Linked DNA regions of Homo sapiens: regions 2, 3 and 4 are each linked to region 1. The links are contacts of gene promoters, found by promoter capture Hi-C in human tissues and cell types (Jung and others, 2019). All regions are on one chromosome and are shown on one strand. Each heading gives the region's core, a stretch centred on a gene start or on the middle of the fragment in contact. The rest is flanking DNA. Distances are from core to core; before and after follow the strand shown.

Region 1 (2,975 bases), core at 174-2,673:
GTGGGAGAGATCACTAAGATAGAGTCCTCCCGGGAGCCAAACCTCTCGCCCGGTTGATTCTGGCAAGCCTGAGACAGGCAAACTGTCTACTTTCCTGTTTTGATGTGGTCCGAAGAAATAAACAAGAAACAAGGAGAGACCCTTCCTCAAACTGTAACTCCAGCCAATTAGCATGAAAAGCTCAAGAAGCTATTAACCAGAAGTTTCGGCTTTAGGGGACCAGGGACTTGCCCGAGGCCCTGGCATGCGCGGCGGCTAGGTTTAACTTTCAACTCATAGTGACCTTTTCCTTAATTTAATGCAAAAAATCTTTCCCAGAGGTGGAGATTTAAGATGCTAATGATACATACGTCCTATGAAGAAGCATGTTAAACCACCATGCATGCACCAGAAAAACTCCACCTCTACATGCCCTGTCTATAGTTCTCCTTATTTCCCCTTACGGGAGAGGCCCGTAAAAGAAACCCACACCCTGACTTCGAGGAACAGCCCACTTTTTTTTTTCTTGGTGTTAGCTCCCTTGTGCGCACAAGCTTTAATTAAAAGAAAGAAAGAAAGAAAACCAAAAAAACTTGCTTTTTGCTGCGATATCCCTTGATTTCTGTCCTGAAGGATCCAAAGAGCCCTCAGGGAGTCGATACCAGAGCCGTATTTGTTTTTGCAGCAACAGGTTGGCTGCGGGCTCTTCCCCCGCCTTCCAAAGCCCTCAGCCCCTGGCCCACCCTGCAACTTACTCATCTCTCCAACCCTCCTCCCCTAGAACTGCTGCCTCCTGTGCGCAGCCCCTAGCCTGGGCCTGATTCCAATTTCTGTAACATTCCCCTGCCCGGGATTGAATACAGGTTGAAAGTCGGTCTCCTCCGCGCCCCTGAGGCCCAACCCCGGCGCTGAAGCCTCCCAACTCCTGTGTGCAAAGGAGACGGAGACTGAGGGATCTGGGCGCTCTGGCAGGCACAGGAGGGCTCCCCGCCCGTGGCCTCGCCGGAGATGCACCCGGCTCCCAACCCAACAAACCCGCTTTGGGAGGGGATGGGGTGGGGAAAAGAAGACGGGGCTCGGGGCTCGAGGGGAGATATAGAGAAAGCAAGTTAGGTAGAGGAGATGTCCCAGAGGACCCCATTTTCGGGACTGCACCTCCCATTGGAGCTCCCCGCTCCCAAGCCCTCTGGGGACTCCCGCGCTGCCGTCGAAACCCCTATTCCGGCCCCAACGGGGACACTTCTCCAGGATTTGCTCCTCGCCTGTGGGGACCACAGCCAAAGACTCCTGGAATCGATCCCAGATCCTGGGAGTCGGGGGGCCCAGCCGGGGTGCGGGGAGTCGCGGCGTCGTGACTGCACCCGCCCCGCCGCGCCGGGAGGCGCCCCTGGCGACCGTCGCGAACGCCACACCCTCGGTTCGGCCCTGGCCCCGCCCCCGCCCAGAGCGCGTTCGCGGCCAGGGGAGGCGTGTGCTGCTCCCGCAGCCAGCGAGAGCGAGAGAGGGATGGATGTTGGAGGAGGAATTCGGGCTTAACAAGTGATCGCTGCTGTCTAGGATTTTGTTTCTTTTCGGGGGAACCTTGACTTCCTTTCCCAGGCAATCCCTCCTGTGCTGAACTCCAGAGGAACCAGGAGTCTTGGGGTCTTCTCTGGGGCAGCCCCAACCCCCACCCCCAGGCTCCAGCCGCGAGGACTCTGTGCACCCCTCGGGCCAGGCAACAGAACTTGTTCCGTGGATATTTGGAGCCTCCACCTGCCAAACCCGAGTGATTCCTTTTACCACCCCCCGCCCCCCACCCAGGATCATTCTTCCCCTCCTCCAGCTGTTGCAGCTTGAGGGGGAAAAACAAGCCAGCCGGTGGATTTTCTTTATTTTTATTTTTCGCCCCGCCGGGGAACGGTAAGTATGATACCTTTTTTTTTTTTTTTTTTTTTTTGTATCTTTCCTCTACCTTCTTATTTTGGCTGTTAAGAAACAGTGGACATTTGAGGGATAAATAATATCGGGAATGTGACAGAAGGGCATGAATGGAAGGCGGTTAAAAATAAACCAGGAGGTGGGAGAAGGGAGGTGCGGATGCTGCGCGGCGCTCCGGGGGGCCAACAGTTGTTATTTTCCCAAACCCGGGGATGCGGTGAGTGCGCCCTGCTTAACGTGCTGGAGCGGGAACCGAGGTCTGGAGGCGAGGGCGCGATTAAAGATGTCGTTTCCCAACGAGAGGGGGGTTAAGATTTAGCATCGTTTCGCCTCCTCCCAGCCGCACCGGTTCCCTTCTTTTGGGAACAGCCGGTGAACGGGTCTGAATTGCTGCCTCTTCCAACGTTTGGATTTGCGTGCATTTTCCGAGCATTTGAGCAACATACATAGGGGCTGCATAAATGGCGTGCGTTGAAGTGTATATTTCTCACGGTGGTGGCTTTTCTGATTCCCTCTCTCAGTTTCTCTCTCTTTCTCTCTCTCTCTCTCTCTAAGGTTCAGGTACCACCCTGACAGTGACACAGTTGCAGGAATTAGCACTGAGAGACGAACAGCCTTGTTGTTGGAGGGGTGAGAGGAGGAGGGGCGGGATGCTTGGCTGTTGTTTGGGGGCGCCGGGATTGGGGAATAGGTAGTCTGCAAAATCCTATTAGTTTAATGGTGTTAAAGAAGAAGACAAATTCCTCTGCAAAGATCTCTCTCATAAAGGCTCCTGGGAATTGGCTTGAATAGATTCTCCTAACAAGAGTACCTTGAGAAAGAAGAGAGATTTTAAACCAGTCTGATTTGCTGGGAGGAATGATTTTTCTTTTCTCTTCTTTTCTTTCTCTCTCCCTTTCTTTCTAGATCAGGGATAGTGAAGTAACTAGTAGATGATTAAAAGGAAGGCAATTTGCTACTTGTAGGGTGGAGGAGGGAGTTAGATAAACAAAAACTAACAATCCCAAATAAATAAATAAATGTGAAATTATTTGGTGTAGAGCAGAAAGAGGGCAGTTCTAGAACTCCCGAAGAGC
Region 2 (2,975 bases), core at 260-2,759, 460 kb after region 1:
TCTTTGATATCATAAAGGTTTTTCTGATATTTTAGATATTTTTTCTCTATATACTTTTTTCTCTTATTGTTGCTAACTATTTCTTCCATTGGCCTTTGCATATCGATCTAATTTTTGGCATTAATAACAAACTGTAATAACAGTTCCAATAATTTCTTAGCAGATAAACAATCATAACATGAAAAACCAAAGATAGTAATAAACTTTCTTGACAGGTTGTCCTCTTTTTATAGTGTCTGGAAAGGTCATAATATATAAGCATTATCTGTACCTTGGAGATTTGGCCACAGTTATAATTAGTACTATAAGGTGAATTTTGAGACATTGGGAATTGATTATTTTTAGCTATATACTCTTTACAGTATTTAATTGATCTATTCCTTCTGTCATTTTTGATACTTATATTTTCTCTAGAAAAAAAGGCTAATTTTACCTATGCTTTTAAGCTTTCTTCTGATAAAAATTTTTCCACTATCATTTTCTAAAAAAAGAAAAAAAAACTCAAAGATACAATTTTTTAGCATTAACCTCAGTAGAAAGAGACATTTAAAATCTCGTCTTAATTCTACTAATCTTTTAAACAAAATAGCTTTCTTTTTGGTTAAGTAATTTTAATATTTGTTTAATGTATTGCTTATTTTATAGTTGTTTTTAGATTCTTGAATTACTTAGCTTATTTTTTTTACCCTCTTTTAAAATAACAACTATTCATTTTACTATGCAAAATGAATGCAAAATTTTACTAGGTAAATGTGCCAGGGATAATCTCAAAACAGATTTATAGCATCATTTGGCTGTGTTTTGTTTGTTCTTCATAACCATACCACAATAATGGCAGGAATTAATATTTCCATTTTACAATGAGAAGACATACTGTGAAAAGTTTAGTGGCTTTCCTGCCAACACTCACACATTGATGAATGTTCAAGCCAAAAATAGGACTATAATCATTCACTCACTGACTGGTCTACCAGTGCTCTATATATGAGTGTGAACTGTAAATACAATTAGGCCCAACAGCACGTTTTCAAGACAAGTCCATGCCTGAAAATATCCTTTAGTATAATTAATCACAGTTCTTGAGGTTTTGTTCTGTTTTTTCTCTGAGCAAGGGCTTCACTATAAAAAATATTTTTCAGGGTTTATTTGTTCTTGCATCTTAGGTGAAATATATTGAGGAACTTAATTAAACTTAATTTTCTTTCTAGGATAAGTTGGGCTATGATTAACATGGAGTGTCCACTTGTCTATTTGGGCCTTCAAGTCTACAAATATCCAAATTCACCCTGAGAACTAGATAATCAGATACCAACAGTTTGGGACCAAGGGTCAGGATGACATTATGAGTTTAGGCTTGAACTTCTCCATCAACTCCAAGCTTAGCAGTCAAAGAATAATTTTAAAGAATGGCAAAATGACTAAGATATGGTAAACTCAAAAGAAGAGAAATATCTCCACAGACCAGAAAGGGAAAAAAATGTCACAGTGATAAGTTAGTGATTAGAGACTGGAGCTAGGCCTGCTGGTTCTCAGTCTAGAGGAAGCTAGAATTTGTCTCCCACAGATTAATGAGAGCTAAAGCTCAGTGTGCATGGCAGGAGACCACAGTCAAGTTAATTGCCTGAAACTTGGGGCAGGTGCAGGACTCACCAGCCTACAAAATATGGTTGAAAGAAAATTATGGCTGCCCTTGGGGTAAGGCTTATGTAAAGTATATACCTACGATTTTAAAGGATTCAGACCAAGTCCTATACACAAGATCTAAAATTAATCCACCCTACATTTAGTAACTGATTTCGAGACTGCTCTATTATCAAGAGAGAACTGGAATTATGAGCCTTTATAAAATTGATCTTGGGGTAGAGTTCCCTTTGTGTCTCTGAAAGAAGGTGAGATTTCTGTGGCAAACAGAAAACAGGTTGGAGTAAGAAGGATGGAAGGAAGCTTGATCAAGGGAGTGAGGCTCTGTGCCTTTACCTCAGGCAGAGTCTCAGGAAGGTGATATGCCCCCACATAGGAAATTGTTGCGAAGTTCATTTGGCAGATGAGTTTCTAGATAGGTTGCAGTTATTTCCAAACCCCCACCTGAATAATGGACATAGCAGAGATCTTTCAGACCCAAAGAGACCAGAAGACAAAAGTGACCTTAAGACCAGTGATGGATGATCATTTGGAATGATGAGCATCTTAGGAAATAATGAGGCATAGCGTCCTCTCCATTTTCTCCCCTCCTCACCACACACCCAGTCTTGGAATTAAGTAAGCTCCTTAGGCACAATCCCTTAAGAAAAAGAGGCTTCAATTTTATTGACATTATTTTCTGCTGCTCTAATAAATTGTGAATTTAAAATGGAAATTATGTTGAACTACAGAAATATATTATCCATGTTGCCTACAAGGTTAATACCTGATTCTAACACAAACAATTCAAACAAGTAAAATATGTTGCTGTACTACTATGAGGTTAACAAAATGAACAGGTAAGACTGACGATCTAACCACTCAGGAGTACCAGGGGCCAGCTATGCCATTCAAACCCACTCCAATCCTGGCAGGGATTTGTCATCATTTGTTGGTGGTGGTTGCTCTGGCTTTAATCTTGATGAGAATGTCTCTGGTCCTCTAGCTGGCTGAGATTTTCAAAGGGGTAACAATGACAGCAATTCCAGTTATGTCCTCCTTGGGGGATCCATTTTTGTTGTAGCAGGGAGCCATACTTTTTGCATCTCATTTCCAAAGAAGGCAGAAGTTTCTTTCAGGCTAGCCCTTCTTTCATCATCTTTCCTGAGATGGTATAAGAAGAAAAATCAGTTTATATCAAGATTTGTGTTATTGTAGCAATTTTACTCAGTACAAAAACATCACTTAAAAAGTTATGGATGGGGTGTAACCGAGACCTCCCTCTTCTAAATCCTTTATAACCTGAGATTTAAAAGGAGATACCCAGTGTGAAACCCCCAAAGGGTTGATGATTT
Region 3 (2,975 bases), core at 273-2,772, 330 kb after region 1:
GGCGAGCAAGCATTACTGCCTGAGCTCCACCTCCTATCAGATCAGTGGTGGCATTGGATTCTCATAGAGTGCAAACCCTATTGTAAACTGTGCATGTGAGGAATCTAGGTTGGGCATTCCTTATGAGAATCTAATACCTGAAAATCTGAGGTGGAACAGTTTCATCCCAAAATCATACCCTCCTTCACCCCCTCTGTAGAAAAATTGTCTTCCACGGAACTAGTCCCTGGTGCCAAAAAGGTTGGGGACCACTGTCCTATGGAACAGAATTTCTTCAGTTTTGTATGTGCCGTGCACTTTTTTGGTAATATAGTAAAGCCGCTTCTCAGAAAATTTTTGAGTAACGTTAAACAAGACTATTATGATTTCAAAGGCATTTGTGTTGAACCAAAATATATTTTTAAAATAGTGATAATCATAGTATATGTGCTTCTTTATTAGTGCAATAAATAAGAAGATTTAGTGGCAGGTACTAACAACCTAATTACATAATTGCAATAAATGGTGATGACAAACGTATTTTGAGATATTTGCAATGTAAAGTGATATGAAAATATCTGTGGTTTCTATTAGTGACAAAGTTAGAGGTACTGGTGATGTTACTACAGTGTTTTGCCTAAATTAATAATGTAAGGCTATGTTAACGTGCCTTAGAAGTTGGTGAAAATATAAAGATACATAATTTTTTCCCAACCACATTCATAGACAACCAAAATTCTATCCATAACTAGCCTATAGAAGAATGAGGAACCTTGCTACACATGAGAGAGACTGTGAAGAAATGGTAATCAAGGATGTGATGCGATTATAGAGACACCATATCAGAATAGTTAAGAGTATAGAATTTGGCATTAGAAAAATGTGGAATTGAATCTCATTTCTGTAACTTTGTTGTGGATGGAACCAGTACCTTAACTTCTGTAGGGACTTTTTTTTTTTCACCTACTTAATGATTATACCTTTAACTAAATTCCTAGAGTCATTGTAAGGCTTAAATAAAATAATGCATATGGAGTGGTTAGTGAAGGTTTGGCAGGGAAATTTTAGGTTAAAAATAATCAACATGGGTATTGAGACTCTTTTCTACCTCTTATCTTCTTTGGATATTGACATACTTTGGTATATATTGGTAGAAAAAAATCTTTGGTTATCTTCTTGGAAAGAGTGCTAGACTTTTGCACATTAAACCTTTCTTGGAAGGAGATGAGGGAGAATGATATTTCCTTTTCCTGTTAGTTTAGGGTTATAGGCATAAATTCAGTGACATCTTGGAAAGAGTGACTTCTCATATGGATGGCAGATGGGGCTGTCATGTTTCTTAAAATATCAACAGCATAACCAGGAAAGGCTCTATTCTAAGTTTGGGATGTAAGCTCAATCTCTTGGATATGGCAAGCTGTGCCTTCCAGCCTCCTGAAATGATTTCAGCTAGCTAAAATACCACTGAAGTCGCTAAAATTTTAGTTGATTTTGCATCCAACACCTGGCTCTTGGTTGAATTGTTTATACTCGTGGGTTTAATTTTAGATTTAAGCTTCATATTTTTCTTACTACTCCAGATATTCTTGATTTTCTTACTGAATTTAAAATGTTTATGATTTACCGGCAGAGTATGTAGTTTTAGACCTTGTTGTAAATATACAAAATGCTATAGCAGCCCATTAGCATGAACATACTGATTTGCTCTCTGCCTCTTTACCCAAGACATAGATCTTTATGTGTCTTACCAGTTCCTCCTATATCCAACCACTTATTCATTGACAAAGCCAGTAAAGATATAGGTAATTAAATGAAGTGGGTGTTATTTTGTTTGGTTAGCTGGATTTTTGCCAGGTTTTTTTTTTTTTTCTTTATCTATTTGGAAGAGGCTTAAATATACTCCAACGAGGCCGGTGAGTCAGATTACAAGGCCTCCTTCTATTCTGTAAAGTCCCTCTAAGTTTTTAGCGCCATTAATTCTCAGGAATCTCAGCTCTTTTTGGCTCTTTGGAGTCTCTACGAATAATGAAAAATACCAGAAGCAGCATTTTCTGCAACATATCTGGGGTCCTTTTACATTTTCCCATTCTTATCTTCACTTGTTCTGCCAGATTGAGATGGGATGTGACTTTCTTCTTCACCATTTCATTGTAGGAGAGTTTCTTACTCAAGCTGGCCAAAAAGGCTCCAATTTACTTTCCATAGTGGAATTCTTGAACTAAGCATATCAGTTAGACTTTTCCTCATCTCAGCCCCAGAAAGCAGGCATTTATATCACTATTATCACACTTATTAAAAACAATATAATTAGCTTCACCAGACTGTGAACATTTTGCAATGAATTTTTATTTATTCATTCAATTAATAAAAATCATTTATTTGTTGAGTACTTATTCTGTATCAGGTGAGTGCTAGGCACAGAGTATATTACTGGTGAACAAGAAGGACAAGGTTCCTGCTCTCACAAAATTTAGAGTGGAATGGACTTTCACTCCATATCCCAACACCTTCCATCAAGTATGGCATAAAGAAGGTAGTAGATATTATCAGAATAGTGCAAAATTAAATTTGTAGTTAACAACCACTGTTAAAATAAATTATAAAATTTACCATTATTTAGTTATAATAAATTGAAGCTATCCTAAGAATAACATGGGCAAAAGAAAAAGTGAAAGACAGGCAAAGTGTTCTAAGAAAACCTTTCTCAGGCAAAGCAAGGTTTAACTTTGGTGAAGACTGTGGTATTACCAATGAGTTTTGAGACAGCAGTGCATCATTTCTATAACTTTTCAATGCTGACCTAAGAAAACCCTGCCTGCAGGTATTTCAGGCATTGGAAACTTTCAGTGCTAACAATTATATTCAGATGGTTGCTCATCAACAGGCACTGGCATCTTGTTATAATGGAGTGTATTTCCTCTGCTTGAATAGATTTCCATGCTCCATTCATTTGATAGTTTTATTTGTAAAACTCCAGTCTGCATCAACTTACTTCT
Region 4 (2,975 bases), core at 308-2,807, 310 kb after region 1:
GTGTCTATATCTCTGTTGTCACTTCTAAGGACATCAGTGATCTTAGCTTATAGCCCACCCTAATGACCTAATATTAACTTGATTATGTCTGCAAAGACTATATTTCCATATAAAGTCACATTTATAAGTGCTAAGAATTAGGACTTGGACATATCTTTTTTGGGGGCATAATTCAATTCATAACATCACCCAATATAAACTACCTAAAAAGTGTTGTAGCTGAGATTTGGTCTCCAGTGTGTTATTTCTAGAACCTGAAGCAGGACTTACAGAAATTCATGTATTGAGATGTCGGCTGAGCCAGAACTAGTACCTGACATTCGTGATTTCCAGGTCATGGGCTTTCACACTGTGCTTGGCTGCCTCTCAGGAAAAAAAAAATTACAAACTAAAATTAGCAGCATTTTCTATTTTTGTAGATAATGGTTTTCTGTTGTGTTTAAGAGCCTGGATTTCCTGAAGGAGGTAGAGTGAAGAGTGGACTGTTTTAGTAAAAAGTGAGAAATACACCCATCCTTATCTCTCAGCTTATGTTTCTGGATGGAGCTGGGCTATCCTCAATCCTGTACTGAGAATGGTCATATTGTGTAGGCTTGGCAAATAAGAATATCTTATTACCCTGGCTTCAGTGATAGGTTTAGGGATAGGGATGCAAAACTAGCCAGTTCAATGGGATTCAAATATATACAGCTCAAATTGAAAACTTTTCAGAATAAAATATTAAAACATTTTTGCTTCCCATCCCAAATAAAGTTGCCATACATGGAGATAGTGGTGGCCAATGTCCTATTAAAGAGTGAGAGATCTGACTTTAGTGTGAGAAACCAACAGAAATGGAAATTGTTCTGCCTAAACCAGCATAAGCTTTTATTATTGGTAATCAAAATGTCTTTTTTTGTAATTTTTATTGATTAAATAATAGTTGTACATGTTCTTGGTATATGTGTGATATTGTGATATATGTATAGAATGTTTAATGATTAAATCAGAGTAATGGGGTATCTATCCACTCAAACATTTATCTTTTCTTTGTGTTGGGGACATTACAATTCTTCTATTTTGAAATATACATTAATTATTTTAACTACAATTTTCCTACTGTAGTATTGAATGCTAGAACTTATGCCTTTTCATCAGATCCCATTGCTCAGGACAATGCTTATGCTGATAAGATAGCTTAAAAAAAAAAAAAAGCTGCTAGCATTCCAACTTCTATCTCTCATGGCAGTTTTTCTCCTTCTCATTTGGCCATTCCCACCTACTCCCCCACTAAAACTTCCACCTATCAATCTCTTCCCACACAAGGCAAATGGTTCTTAGACCAAGGAAAATATCTCCTTCCAGCCTCACAGGCCCATTCTATTCTGTTGTCATTTCCTAACCTCTTCCATGTAGGTTACAAGCCGCTAGCCCGCCTCTTAGAACCTCTCATTTCCTTTCCATCGTGGAAGTCTATCCTTAAGGAAATCACTTCTCAGTGTTCCATCTGCTATTCTACTACTCCTCAGGGATTGTTCAGGCCCCCCCACCTTCCCTACACATACATCAAGCTTAGGGATTTGCCCCCTCCCAGGAATGGCAAATTGACTTTACCCACATGCCTCAAGTCAGGAAACTAAAATACCTCTTGGTCTGGGAAGACACTTTCACTGGATGGGTAGAGGCCTTTCCCACAGGGTCTGAGAAGGCCACCACAGTCATTTCTTCCCTTCTGTCAGACATAATTCCTCGGTTTGGCCTTCCCACCTCTATACAGTCCAATAACGGACCGGCCTTTACTAGTCAAATCACCCAAGCAGTTTCTCAGGCTCTTGGTATTCAGTGGAACCTTCATATCACTTACCGTCCTCAATCTTAATGAAAGTTAGAATGGACTAATGGTCTTTTAAAAACACACCACACCAAGCTCAGCCTCCAACTTAAAAAAGGGACTCTGTCAAGAATAGAGCCGAAAAACTCACCAACCAAGCAAGTAACTACACTGAATCCCCCTTGGACACTCTCTAATTGGATGTCCTGGGTCCTCCCAATTTTCAGTCCTTTAATACCTGTTTTTCTCCTTCTTATTCCATTTAGTTTTTCAATTCATACAAAACCGTATCCAGGACATAATCAATAATTCTACATGACAAATGTTTCTTCTAACAACCCCACGATATCACCCCTTACCACAAAATCTTCCTTCAGCTTAATCTCTCCCACTCTAGGTTCCCACGCCGCCCCTAATCCCACTCGAAGCAACCCTGAGAAACATCACCCATTATCTCTCCATACCACCTCCCAAAATTTTTGCCACCCCAACACTTTACCACTATTTCATTTTATTTGTCTTATTAATATAAGAAGACAGGAATGTCAGGCCTCTGAGCCCAAGCTAAGCCATCTTATCCCCTGTGACCTGCACGTATACATCCAGATGGCCTCTGAAGAATGACAAAAGAAGTAAAAATTGCCTGTTCCTGCCTTAACTGATGACATTACCTTGTGAAATTCCTTCTCCTGGCTCATCCTGGCTCAAAAGCTCCCCCGCTGAGCACCTTGTGACCCCCACCTCTGCCGGCCAGAGAGCAACCCTCCTTTGACTGTAATTTTCCTTTACCTACCCAAATCTTATAAAACGGCCCCACCCCTACCTCCCTTCACTGACTCTTTTTGGACTCAGCCCGCCTGCACCCACGTGAAATAAACAGCCTTGTTGCTCACAAAAAAAAAAAAAAAAAAAAAGAACTTAGGCCTTTTATCTAACTGTATGTTTAGACATGGTATATATTCTATTGGTTTTATGTATGTAATTAGTATATATTCTATTTACATGGTACATATTCTACTGGTTTTATGTATATAATTAGTTTTATATACTATTGGGTATAATTGGATATAAAATTTGTTATATATGCATATATGTGTATACAGTATATATATTAATATTACATACATATATATTTACAGAGCTATATTTTAAGAAATTGACCCAC

Evidence for each region. Contacts are between HindIII fragments. The study calls those that stand out against the background at their distance.
Region 2: a fragment that was not itself captured here is called in contact with the fragment with the promoter of KCNA4 in region 1 in 2 of the 25 tissues and cell types used here (dorsolateral prefrontal cortex and liver).
Region 3: a contact is called between a fragment that was not itself captured here and the fragment with the promoter of KCNA4 in region 1, in 3 of the 25 tissues and cell types used here (dorsolateral prefrontal cortex, hippocampus and stomach).
Region 4: a fragment that was not itself captured here is called in contact with the fragment with the promoter of KCNA4 in region 1 in 3 of the 25 tissues and cell types used here (heart left ventricle, heart right ventricle and mesendoderm cells).

The regions. Positions count from the first base shown.
Region 1 is chr11:30,015,478-30,018,452 of GRCh38, reverse strand. KCNA4 (potassium voltage-gated channel subfamily A member 4) reads left to right here and starts at 1,423. Exons shown (of 2, transcript NM_002233.4): 1 at 1,423-1,881. The HindIII fragment of the contact is 10,149 bases long and covers 1-2,975 here.
Region 2 is chr11:29,552,169-29,555,143 of GRCh38, reverse strand. The region is part of intron 1 of LINC02755 (long intergenic non-protein coding RNA 2755); the gene reads left to right. Among named protein-coding and RNA genes, the nearest start is that of LINC02755, 41 kb to the left of the region's middle. The HindIII fragment of the contact is 3,890 bases long and covers 1-2,975 here.
Region 3 is chr11:29,681,440-29,684,414 of GRCh38, reverse strand. No RefSeq gene overlaps it. Among named protein-coding and RNA genes, the nearest start is that of LINC02546, 89 kb to the right of the region's middle. The HindIII fragment of the contact is 7,986 bases long and covers 1-2,975 here.
Region 4 is chr11:29,705,487-29,708,461 of GRCh38, reverse strand. No RefSeq gene overlaps it. Among named protein-coding and RNA genes, the nearest start is that of LINC02546, 110 kb to the right of the region's middle. The HindIII fragment of the contact is 4,665 bases long and covers 1-2,975 here.